Regions from separate parts of the Homo sapiens genome. Here region 1 is linked to region 2. The links are contacts of gene promoters, found by promoter capture Hi-C in blood cells and fetal thymus (Javierre and others, 2016). All regions are on one chromosome and are shown on one strand. The core of a region is centred on a gene start or on the middle of the fragment in contact, and the rest is flanking DNA. Distances in the headings are between cores, read along the strand shown. Region 1 holds the start of LINC01571 (long intergenic non-protein coding RNA 1571). Region 2 holds the start of SALL1 (spalt like transcription factor 1).

The links. The method cuts DNA at HindIII sites, captures the fragments that hold promoters and counts their contacts. A CHiCAGO score of 5 or more calls a contact.
Region 1: a contact is called between a fragment that was not itself captured here and the fragment with the promoter of SALL1 in region 2, in 1 of 17 cell types (endothelial precursors). The highest score is 6.8, in endothelial precursors.

The regions. Positions count from the first base shown.
Region 1 is chr16:51,760,942-51,765,627 of GRCh38, reverse strand. It overlaps LINC01571 (long intergenic non-protein coding RNA 1571), which reads right to left and starts at 3,109. Exons shown (of 3, transcript NR_110916.1): 1 at 3,053-3,109. LOC105371257 (a long non-coding RNA gene) reads left to right here. Exons shown (of 4, transcript XR_001752182.1): 3 at 3,212-3,698. The HindIII fragment of the contact is 4,119 bases long and covers 31-4,149 here.
Region 2 is chr16:51,149,877-51,155,103 of GRCh38, reverse strand. SALL1 (spalt like transcription factor 1) reads left to right here and starts at 3,834. Exons shown (of 3, transcript NM_002968.3): 1 at 3,834-3,938. The coding sequence starts at 3,863. RefSeq lists enhancers at 1-481, 4,137-4,637. The HindIII fragment of the contact is 4,337 bases long and covers 1,168-5,227 here.

The sequences.
Region 1 (4,686 bases), core at 841-3,340, 610 kb before region 2:
TGGGCACCACACCCAGCAGACACAAAAGCTTCTCCTGGCTTGAAGCCACCAGCAAAGGCAGCCTCGGCTTCTCCAGCACCTTGGCTCTGGGTTGAGTCTCACCTGTGTTGAATGGTTTCTCTGCAGGAGCAATTTTAAGGCTAAAAATAAAGTCAAAAGAGAAAGGAAAAAAAGAAAGGAAAATAGGGAAACATCACTCTTCTATCTCCACCTGGCCTCATGTACTGCTCTTTGACATTCATTAGAAAAACACAAAGTCCAAGTGGGAAAGAGGGAGTTCCCAGGCAAAACAAGATTTTGCTATCATTTGCAAGAACAGTCCTTCTTTCTGTTGCCCCTGACTGCAACCTTCCCTCGCCAGTAATAATGAGCCTGTGAAATGCTCATGGAGATCTGTTGTTAGGCTGGGGCACTTGGATCTAATTCTAGAAGGTTCAGATCTTCAGCCTGTTGCTTCTTATTTCACTGGTCCAGAAAGAGCCACTCAGATGATAAGACTGGCAGAAAAGAAGGGCATGGTGTAAACAAAGTCCCTGTCTCACCTGGAGCCCTTTTTGCCACTTGCAATTATATGGTTTCATTTCAGTGCTTGCAGCTGAAGCTGACCTTTCTTTGCATTACAGCTAGTTTCATTAACACCTTTTTCTTTTCTTCCTCGGTGTGAGGTTTTATACTTTGGTTTTGATGGCCAGATTGCTTTGGGGAGCACAGGCAGCTTGTGGCACCATCCTGGGCACAGTGGATACTTACAAAAGACTTAGATGCAATTTTTGCTGCTGAATTCCAGTTGGAACTTCAAAAACAGATGAGGTTAACAGAGTGCATGTCTGATTTTTAGAAACCTAGTGTTTTAGAACCAAAATGGACTCGAGGACTTAATAAGGAACTAACCCCTCCTTTTAAAAATAATGTAAGTGAGGCTCAGATGTCATAAGAGACATGAACAAGGACACTTGGTCACAGCATAGCCAAAATATAAGGTCACATTTTTGCCCTGAGGTTGGCCACAATATGGAATAACAGTTTTGCCACCAATCTTGAAGTCTCAAGATAGGTAACCAATGTAAGTCTTTGAAATAATGCATATTAGAGTATTTTAAGATTAATCTTTTTATCCAGATAAGATGAAATGGCTTTAGAACTTTTGCTTTAATAGGAAGAGGAGGCTAATTGGCACACTCTTTGCTTGTATCTAACTGTGTGCTTAAGAGTGTGAAATCACTTGGTAGAACAAAGTCCTTAAAACAATCATGAACAATGGTGATAGAAAAGGAAGCTGTGGGACTCCTCAGCCAGAAAAGGGTCTCTAGGTAAAGATTCACTTTGCCAGGAAACCTCACAAATTATAAACTAGTGGCATTTCCAGATGAATGGTATTTTACTTTATGGTTCTTTGAAGCACGCGTGAATCATTCTGAAATGATTATATGAAGAACTGGTTTTATGACGTGAGCTTATGTGGTACGTTAGCTCCCAGTTGGCTATCCTGGGGAAGCAAAGACAGTGTGGTTAATCGAGAGAATCAAAACTAAATTTCTAGACCTGATTTCTGACCCTAGCTGTGCCTCGAACCAGCTGTGTAACTGGGCAAATTACTTTGCCTCTGCCAATTTTGGTTTCCTGGCTAAAGATTTTTACTAGAGGGTCTCTAATAGGTTGCCAGGTTGAGAAGGAAAAAAAAAAGTAAGGAAGAAAGGAAAGAAGGAAGGGAGAAGGAAGGGAGGAAAAAAAAAAAACAAAAACAACACACAGGCATCCACTTAAATCTGAATGTCAGATAAACAAAGAATATCTTTTAGTGTAAGTATGCCCCACGTAATATCTGGGACATACTTACACTAAAATCAAACCACTATTCATTCTTTTTCTGAAATTCAAATGTAACTGGGTATTCTGTAATTTATCTGGCAACCCTAGGCCTCCAATTCTATAATTAATGATTCTGACTGTATTTGTTTCTAAAAGTGTATGAAGGAGAGAGAGAGAGAGAGAAGCAATCCCCTGAAAGCACTCACCAGCCGGTTGCTAGTCTGCAAAAGGACAGCTCATGGCATTAGAGTAAAAGTCTCTTTAGGCTGAGAGGCAGCCCTGGAGAAAACAACGCCCTTTCCTGATGACATAGGCCCCTCCCATGGCTGTCCTGAGAGCCAGACCTCTTTGTGGGCCTAGAGAGCTCTGTGCCCTGAACCGTCTCAGTGGCAGGCAGTGCTGTGCTGAGCGCCCTAAGAAAAAGCCTAGTCCCTTCCATACACAAAGACAATTGCAATTAATCCCTGTTGTGAGCCACCAGGCACCAAGGATCACAGAATCCTCACAACAGGGGCCTAAACAAATCATCCTTAGGTGGAAACCAGGAATGGATCCAGCCTCCCCTTTCTCCCTAAGTAATGTGGACATAGAGGGCATCCACCCCAACCTGTTTGTTATGGGACTGGGTAAGAGTGGGAAGATAGAGCAAGATAGAGAGAGGAAGAGGATGTGAGATGCTGGAAGTCAGTGTTGCAGTCAGTTAGCAAAAGGCCGGGTAGTTAGAATTGGGATACCGAGATTTCCCCCACAACCTTAAAAAATAATTGCAGGTAACACTTTATTCTGTGTTACAGTGAGGTCCCTCCCTTAAGCATAATGACTGCTTCTTTGGTCCATTTAGTTTGGGTCTTTTGCAATTTATCAGAGATGAGTTCCCTGGAGTCTGGGATCCCATTCAAAGCAGTGTGGGCGCACGCATAAGTGTGTTGATTGCATTTCCACAATCCTCAGATTCTGCCCTTGAGAGGGGCTGTCCCTCCACTGATTCCTGGAATGGATGGGCAAACAGAGCCCCAGTGTCTCCAAAAGCACTTCAGAATCCCCCTCACCACCACCGCCACGCCGCCAGGAAATGAATTAACCTGGACACCCAGACAGCTGCCATTAACTCGACCTCCCCTCCATAAAGAAGCACGCAGAGCCGGAGTGTAAAGAGGATATGGTTAGGATACGATGTTTAACAGAGAGAAAGAAAGGAGGAGAAACAACTGTTTGCTTTAGATGCAAATAAACTCAACTTCACCTTTAAAGCTGAAAACCTGTGCCCTTGGCAAGACGTTTGGGGACTGTTCCAGAGATATTAATCTTCCTCCGTTTACATGTTAAATAGATCTTTGGAAACGGTTTCTCCAGCACTGTTTTTTCTCTCCGGCACAATCTCCTTCTCTCTTTCTTTTTTTAGTACAGTCAGGACTCCCCAGCAGCGAGAAGCCCCGGGGGACGAAGGTGGAGGCACCAAGCCGTGTGGATTTCAGAGCCATCCGCGGCTGCCGGCTGTTGGGGCGGCCAGGAGTGGCCTGCCAGCAGATGGCGCTGCGCCGCACGTTATGGACCCTCGTGTGCCCGACCGGCTCAGGGAAGGAGACAGACGGCTCAAAGTTTCTAGTGCCATTCCTGGACTGAAACAAATGTTTGTGGAATTAAGTAGTGATTTCCTTTAGTGTGCGCCACTCTTACTGGCTGTGTTTTCAGGCCTAGATGTTAACATATGCCACATATTACTTTTTTTTTTTTTTTTTTCCTGGTGAAGTCAGGGGTTTCCAAGCACTCAGCCTCATCCTAAGTGTTCATGTCAACTAGCAAAGGTCTGCATTTTCTGATAAAATAACTTATAAAACTTCCATATTAAGAGCTAAAATGGTTTGGAAGACAAAGAAGTGCTGAGAAATGTAAGTAAACAGAGCACCTAACATTTTGTCTTTCTAAATAAACAAACGGGGAGGGAGGTGTTCCTTTATTAGGCTCAAAAATTACTCATGAGAGCGGCCAGGAGGAGATTCAAGGCATTCGGGAAAAAGTGTCTCTGGCTACTGGGGGGAAGGGGGTTGCATTATGTGATTGCTGGAAACACTGAGGTGCAATGATCATAAATGTAGAATCGTGGAGAAAATTTAGGATATGCTCGGAACACCCAAGGCACAGCCAGAAGTCCCTGGGTTTTCAGAACCCAGTTAAACAACAATGGGTTAAGGGTGATAGGAATTGCCAGTGCAATTGCTTCACCATGCCAAGTGGCTCCATTAGTTAGGGTTCAGTATGTATTTAATGTTGCCATAAAATCTGTCTTCTCAAAGTAAACAAGGCAAGTCTGTGAGCATCTCCGACAAGATGTATGAAGCTTTGTTTGGGATAATGGATTTGACATGAGTAAAAACACTGGGGATTAAATGGACCCAGCACGGATAAATATGACTAATTGTCATCTCCTCGTATCAGCGTAAACATCTCTAGCACCGCATACTAGGGAGAGATGGTGGAGCAAGGGGGTTTGGGGGCGATTAGTCACTGCAGAATTGATTCACAACTGATTGATTAAGCAGGGATGGAGGGGAACATTGAGGCCTTTCCTTCCACATGGAGGTGAATGTCGCGTTTTAGAATTTCCAAGCATTTCTTGCTCAGATTGAACTGTGAGTCACAGCCCTAAAGAGTGAGTACACAGCTGTTCTGTTGTGTGTGTACACGGTAACTTTGGGCTTCTTTTTCTTAAATGTTCATTAATCTTTTAAAACTGGCAGAATGGCCCGAGCATCTTTTACACAAAAGAACAAGATCTGAAGTCTTGTCATGGACTTTTTAGAAGTTTTCAGCAAGCGACTCAATTCCTGTTTCTCTTAATGTACATAGAGATAATATTTAACTTTCCTCACCTATGTT
Region 2 (5,227 bases), core at 2,585-5,084:
TTTGAGGGTAGAAGAACCAGGCCTCAGAATGCGCGAGCCTTGACGCCCCCCACGTTGCCCTTCGTAGGACCAGAGGTTGAGCAAAGAAGCCTGGAAACCTCATGGCTGGGACCCCAGTTGTGGCCTGCGGCCTTGGGGCACAGACCTTCGGCCCCGCCAACCCACCAAGGATACTCTAGGACTTGGGAAAACTAAGGGGACGTATTAGTAGGAACGAGCATCAATCCCCCAAGATGGGAGTTTGCAAAACTCGCCAAGCGCCTCCCCCGGGTGCGGTTCCTCTCCGCCAGTGAGGTCGCGACCCCGGCGCAGCTGCCGCCTCACTTCGGGCTATCCCCATTCGCTATTGCGGATCAGCCCCTAAGTACCAGGCCCTCTGGCGGAACCTGCAAGTCCAAACTTCGCTACCCGGATTCCCCAGTAGTCCCCCCCCCACCCCACCTCCACCCAGAGTTAGGAGGGTGCTACCGCACGTAGAGCGCGCAGGTCTCTGGGGTGAGCAGGGCGCGTGGAGGGACTCCAGGAGTGGCACCTCACTCCCGCTCGCCGCCTACTTTCGACCCGCACAAAAATAAAGAATAACCCCCACTCTGCTTCTGTTTTTATTGATGTATTTCTTTGCATCGCGGCACGCGGAGCCTCGCCAGCGCCCTGACACTGCAGCGCCCGCACCAGCGAACCACGGAACTTGGGACCGAGACAATGGCCCGTAATTGATGTATTGCCATCAACAATAAAGACCAATTCTCCTCTCCCCGCCATTCCGACCATCCCCCTCCTCCCATCCCCCCCTCCTCCACCTCCCATCTCCTTTCCCGGGGCCACCGAGGGAAAGAAAACAAACAAGAAATTAGCGGGGGACGCCAAGCGCAGATCGAAACGCCCGCCTCTACGCCGTCGAGGACGCAAAAAAACGAAAAAAGTTATTAAAGTTTGGATCCCCCAATTTATTCGTCTCTGCTCGCCCATTTTTAATTAAGCATCGCGTAGCTGCTTTTCGCATGTTCATTTCGTTTGGTTGTTTGTTGTGGTGTTTTTTTGGGGGGGGGGAATTTTTTTTTTTCCTACACTTAATCTTAAATCACACGTAGACCAAGTAACAAACACGTGTGAAGTTATTCCCGGGAGCTTCCTGCTGCGCACGCGGCGCGCACCAGGAGAAAAGCTTTGCGGGACCGCCAGCTCCGCTAGGTTCCTGGCTGCATGCGGTGCCCGGGAGGCCCGGACTTTCAAGAAGCCAAGATTGTTAGAGAAGGATGCGGGCGGCTCCAAACACGGGCACATTCCGGGAAAGGAGTGTGCAAGTGCACACAAACGCGTTCGTGTACCTGGGACAGTGTGGATTGGTGGGTGTGCGAGGACCCCTGTTTGTGAGATGGAGGCGGGTGCGGGATTTACACGTGCTCCCGTACACGTTCCCCGGGGTCTGGGAGATGCGAGCCGCTCACACCCCAGGAGTGCGCAGATCCATCTTTGCCGAGGGATCTCTTTAAATATTCAGTGAGAAATAATGGCATTTGAAGCACCACCTATGGAAACATTATTATCTTCATTCTTCAACATCAGCCCCACTGATAGCTTCGTTTGTCTTTTTATCAAAATCTACTGTACCCATCAGGACCTGGCGAGAACGGGAGAGCGAGGCGGAGAGGGTGTGAATGTGTGTGTTAGGGAGTGAGCGAGGGCAGAAGATAAGTAAGAGAAAAGGTGGAAAACGGACGAGCAGGGAGAGAGAAGGGAGAAGTTATACCAATAAAAAAAAATAAAGTCAGCAGATGAAAAACAGAAACATTCATCGGCACACACACACATTTACACCTTAAAAGAAAAGATTTAAGAAGCTAAGAGAAAGGGAAGGGTCCTCTACCGGAGCGCAGTACAGGTCCGGAGTACACGAAGTCGGCTCGGGAGACCGGTGCCCACTTCGCGCGAACCGACCGTGGCACCGGCCAGACTCAAGGGCGCTCGCGAATTGGGGCGTCCTTATGAGCCCTCTCCTTTCCTGATCGTGAGATAGGGCAGGGATTGTGTATCTGCACCCCCCTCCTCCCCCATTACTCAGCCGAAGTTTAGTTTAGTTTAGTCCTTCGGGCGCAAGACTTCGAGAACCTTGGAGCGAGGAGACCCCGAGGCGCGAGGGGAAAGAGCTAGGCTGAGCCGCGTACCGAGTCTCAGGTTCGCGGGCGCCTGAGCCCGGCAGAGGGATCGGGCTCCTGGCTCTGGGCTCTGGGGCGAGGGTAGGGAGGTTGCATCTCAGCTTGAGGGAGATGGTGATAGAGCGAAAAGTTCGGGCGCCGCGCTCGGCAAGTGCCCAAAAAGTGGAGGCGAGCTTCGGCGCCGCCAGGCAGCCTCGGACAGAACACCTCCCCACCGCCCTCCCCCCACCCCGCTTTCCGGCTCTGCGCCGCCACCTCGTCCCGGAAGGCTGGGGCGCGGCCCCCTCCCCAGGGCGGGGTGCCCAGGGGTCCCAGGGACTGGCCCAGTCCAGTGCCGGGTCCGCCCGGGCTGTGTCTCCCTAGGCCGGTGCTCGCTGCTGCGCTCAGTGTGAGCCGCAGCCCCTCCCCTCCCCCCGGCCGGAGCTGAACTCGGAGCCCAGGCCGGTCCCCGCTCTCCGCCCGCCCGGGGCTCTGCGGCGCCACCGCTGCCGCCGCCTCCCCGCGGAGTGACGCGCCCTGCAGCCAACCGGGGCAGCCGGGGGGGAGGTCCGGGAGGGGTCCTGGGCGGAGCCGGGCCGCCCCCTTATCCCACGGGCTCGGGGCTGCTTCTCCCGAAAACTTCAGCCCTAATTGTCCTGGGAATGTCCGAGGTAGAGAAAGGGAGCGAGGGAGCAAGCAAGAAGCTGGAGGATCAGTGCCCCTGGCGGGGAGGGGATGGGGTGGCGGGAGAACTGCCCCTCCCCCCAGCCACAAACCCATCAGGTTCCCAAACCTTTCCTGGATCCTCTTCTCCGCGCCCCCGCGAGCCCGGGATCCAGGGGATGGAGAACTCGGGGCGGAGGAGCGCCGAGCCAGGCGGGAGGGAGGCCGAGCCGTGGGCGGGAGGCGGACCGGCGTGGGGCTGGCTCTTCCCCACTCGCTTATTTTTTTTTTTAATGGGGGTGGGGGTGGGCTGCTTTCTGGTAGCTCTTAAAGAAACGAAGAAACACTCACGAAACGGGACGCCCTCCCCCCTGATCCCGCCGCGGGACTCCCTCCCCCCGCGGGCCGGCGCGCCTCGCCCCCGAGTTGGGAAGTTCGCAGCGCGCCGGCAGCCCGGGTCCCCAGCCCTCGCCGCCCGGCCCCACCCCCCACCCGGGGCGGCTCAATTCCGGGGAGGGCATGCTAATTTGGGTCGGCCCAGCCCGGGATTGTGGGGGGGGGCGAAGGAGGGAGGGAAGAGGGAGGGGAGAGGGAGAGAGCGGGGGGCGCCTGCCGGGGCGCCGGGCCCGCAGTGGAGAGGAGGCCGGCCCCCGGCGGCCGGGCCGCGGAGTCCCGGGCGGTCGCAAAGAGGGTTAACCCAGTGTCGGGCGGCGCGGCGCGCAGAGCCAGCCCCGCGGCCGGCTTATTGGGCCAGCGCGCGGAGAGACAGGGGTCTGCAGCAAATCACGAACTAATTGATTAAGGCGAGCGGGTTTGAATAGCGCTGGCCCGGTGCCAATCGCCTTTCAAAGAGCCCCTCTATGATTAATCGCAATGCATTATTGATAATCATAATTATAGCAGGACACATGCGCGCTGCGCCCGGGGCCGGGGAGCCGGGGAGGGGGCGGGCGGGCCGGCGGGCGGGGGGAGCCGCCGCCGCCGCCGCCGCTCGATTTCCGTAATTTTGAGAAGATTTTTTTTTAGTAATTTTTTATTCTGCCCCAGCTGATGTTTGAGCCAGCATGTCGCGGAGGAAGCAAGCGAAGCCTCAACATTTCCAATCCGACCCCGAAGTGGCCTCGCTCCCCCGGCGAGATGGTGAGTGCTCCGGCCCGCGCCGTGGACACACACACACGCACTCACACTCACGCACACTCGGACCCACTCACACGCGGCTGGCCCCCGCGCCCCCTACCTCACCGCCGCCGCGGCCCCGATTGCTTCTTCCACTCGGCGTAATTTTTTTTTTCTTTTTAATTTTCAATGTGCCTTTGCTGGGCTTTCCCCCGCTGCCCCGGGGAAAGCGAGCACATCTCCCGGCAGGATCTTTCCGGAGTTGTTGGGTCCTCCCGGGGGAAGGAGGGCGGGCATGCCGGCCTGGCTTCTCCGTCCCTGCTTTTCCGGGGATCCCAGCCGCGGCCAAGACCCGGGAGCCCCATGAGGCGTGGGTGCGGGTGGAGGTCGCCCCGGCCTGACCGCACGGGGCCCCTAGCGCTCCCGGCGCCGGCCCCAGGGCACCCGGCCCGGCCTCCGCCGCCCGGCCTTGCTGCCAGCGGTAAGGAAGTTTACTTCGGGCGCTGGGCTGAACTCCGAGCGTGGGGGAGTTCGCTGCGCCCCCCTGCCCCCACGCACACTCCCCCTCGGCCTGCGAGGCAGAACCGGGTGTCTTTGGAGGTTCAGAGCTGCAAGAAGATGGGGACTGGTGTCGGGGCGCCAGCGCCTGACCCGCTGGGGTTGCGGCCGGGGTGGAGAGTGCTGCTGGCCGCCAGTTGTTCCGGAGACGGTGCAAACGGACGGGGAAAGTGTCGGGGTCTGGCTCGCAAAATTTATCTCCGCATCTCTTCCCACAACACTTGCACCCTCTGCCCCCCAAAATCTTTCTGGTCGGTATGCGCCCTCTGCGGATCGTGGTGCTCCCTACTTCCAGGGGGGTCAGGGAAGAAGTCATAGAATAGTTTTCCAGGTTTGCGGGTGGCCAGCCAGAGTGGAATCCCCCCTGAAACAGGGGCACTTGTTTTCTCCGATGGAGGCGACAACTGTGGGTCCCGAAGGGGCTGAACAAGTCCAGAACAAAGTTTGTGTGTGGGGGCTATGGCAGAGAGTGGAAGAGATCCGGGCAGGGAGTTGGGGTACAAAGGGAGGACACCTGGAATCCCTCCTTGCTCCTAAAGGTGTTTCACGGTACCGGCCTCAAAGCTCCCAGGCCTAGCGCCCGAGGCGGTGTAGCGGCGCCCGGACTCGGGTCCCCGGGTCGTCCCGGCACGATGCTGGCCTCTCGGCTGTGGGAGGACGCACAAGGAGCAATCTCGGCGGGGTCTCAGCGGCTCCGGATGCCACTCGGGATGCCCACGCCCTAGGCGGCATTTTGGGGTGTGAAGGAGGGAGCT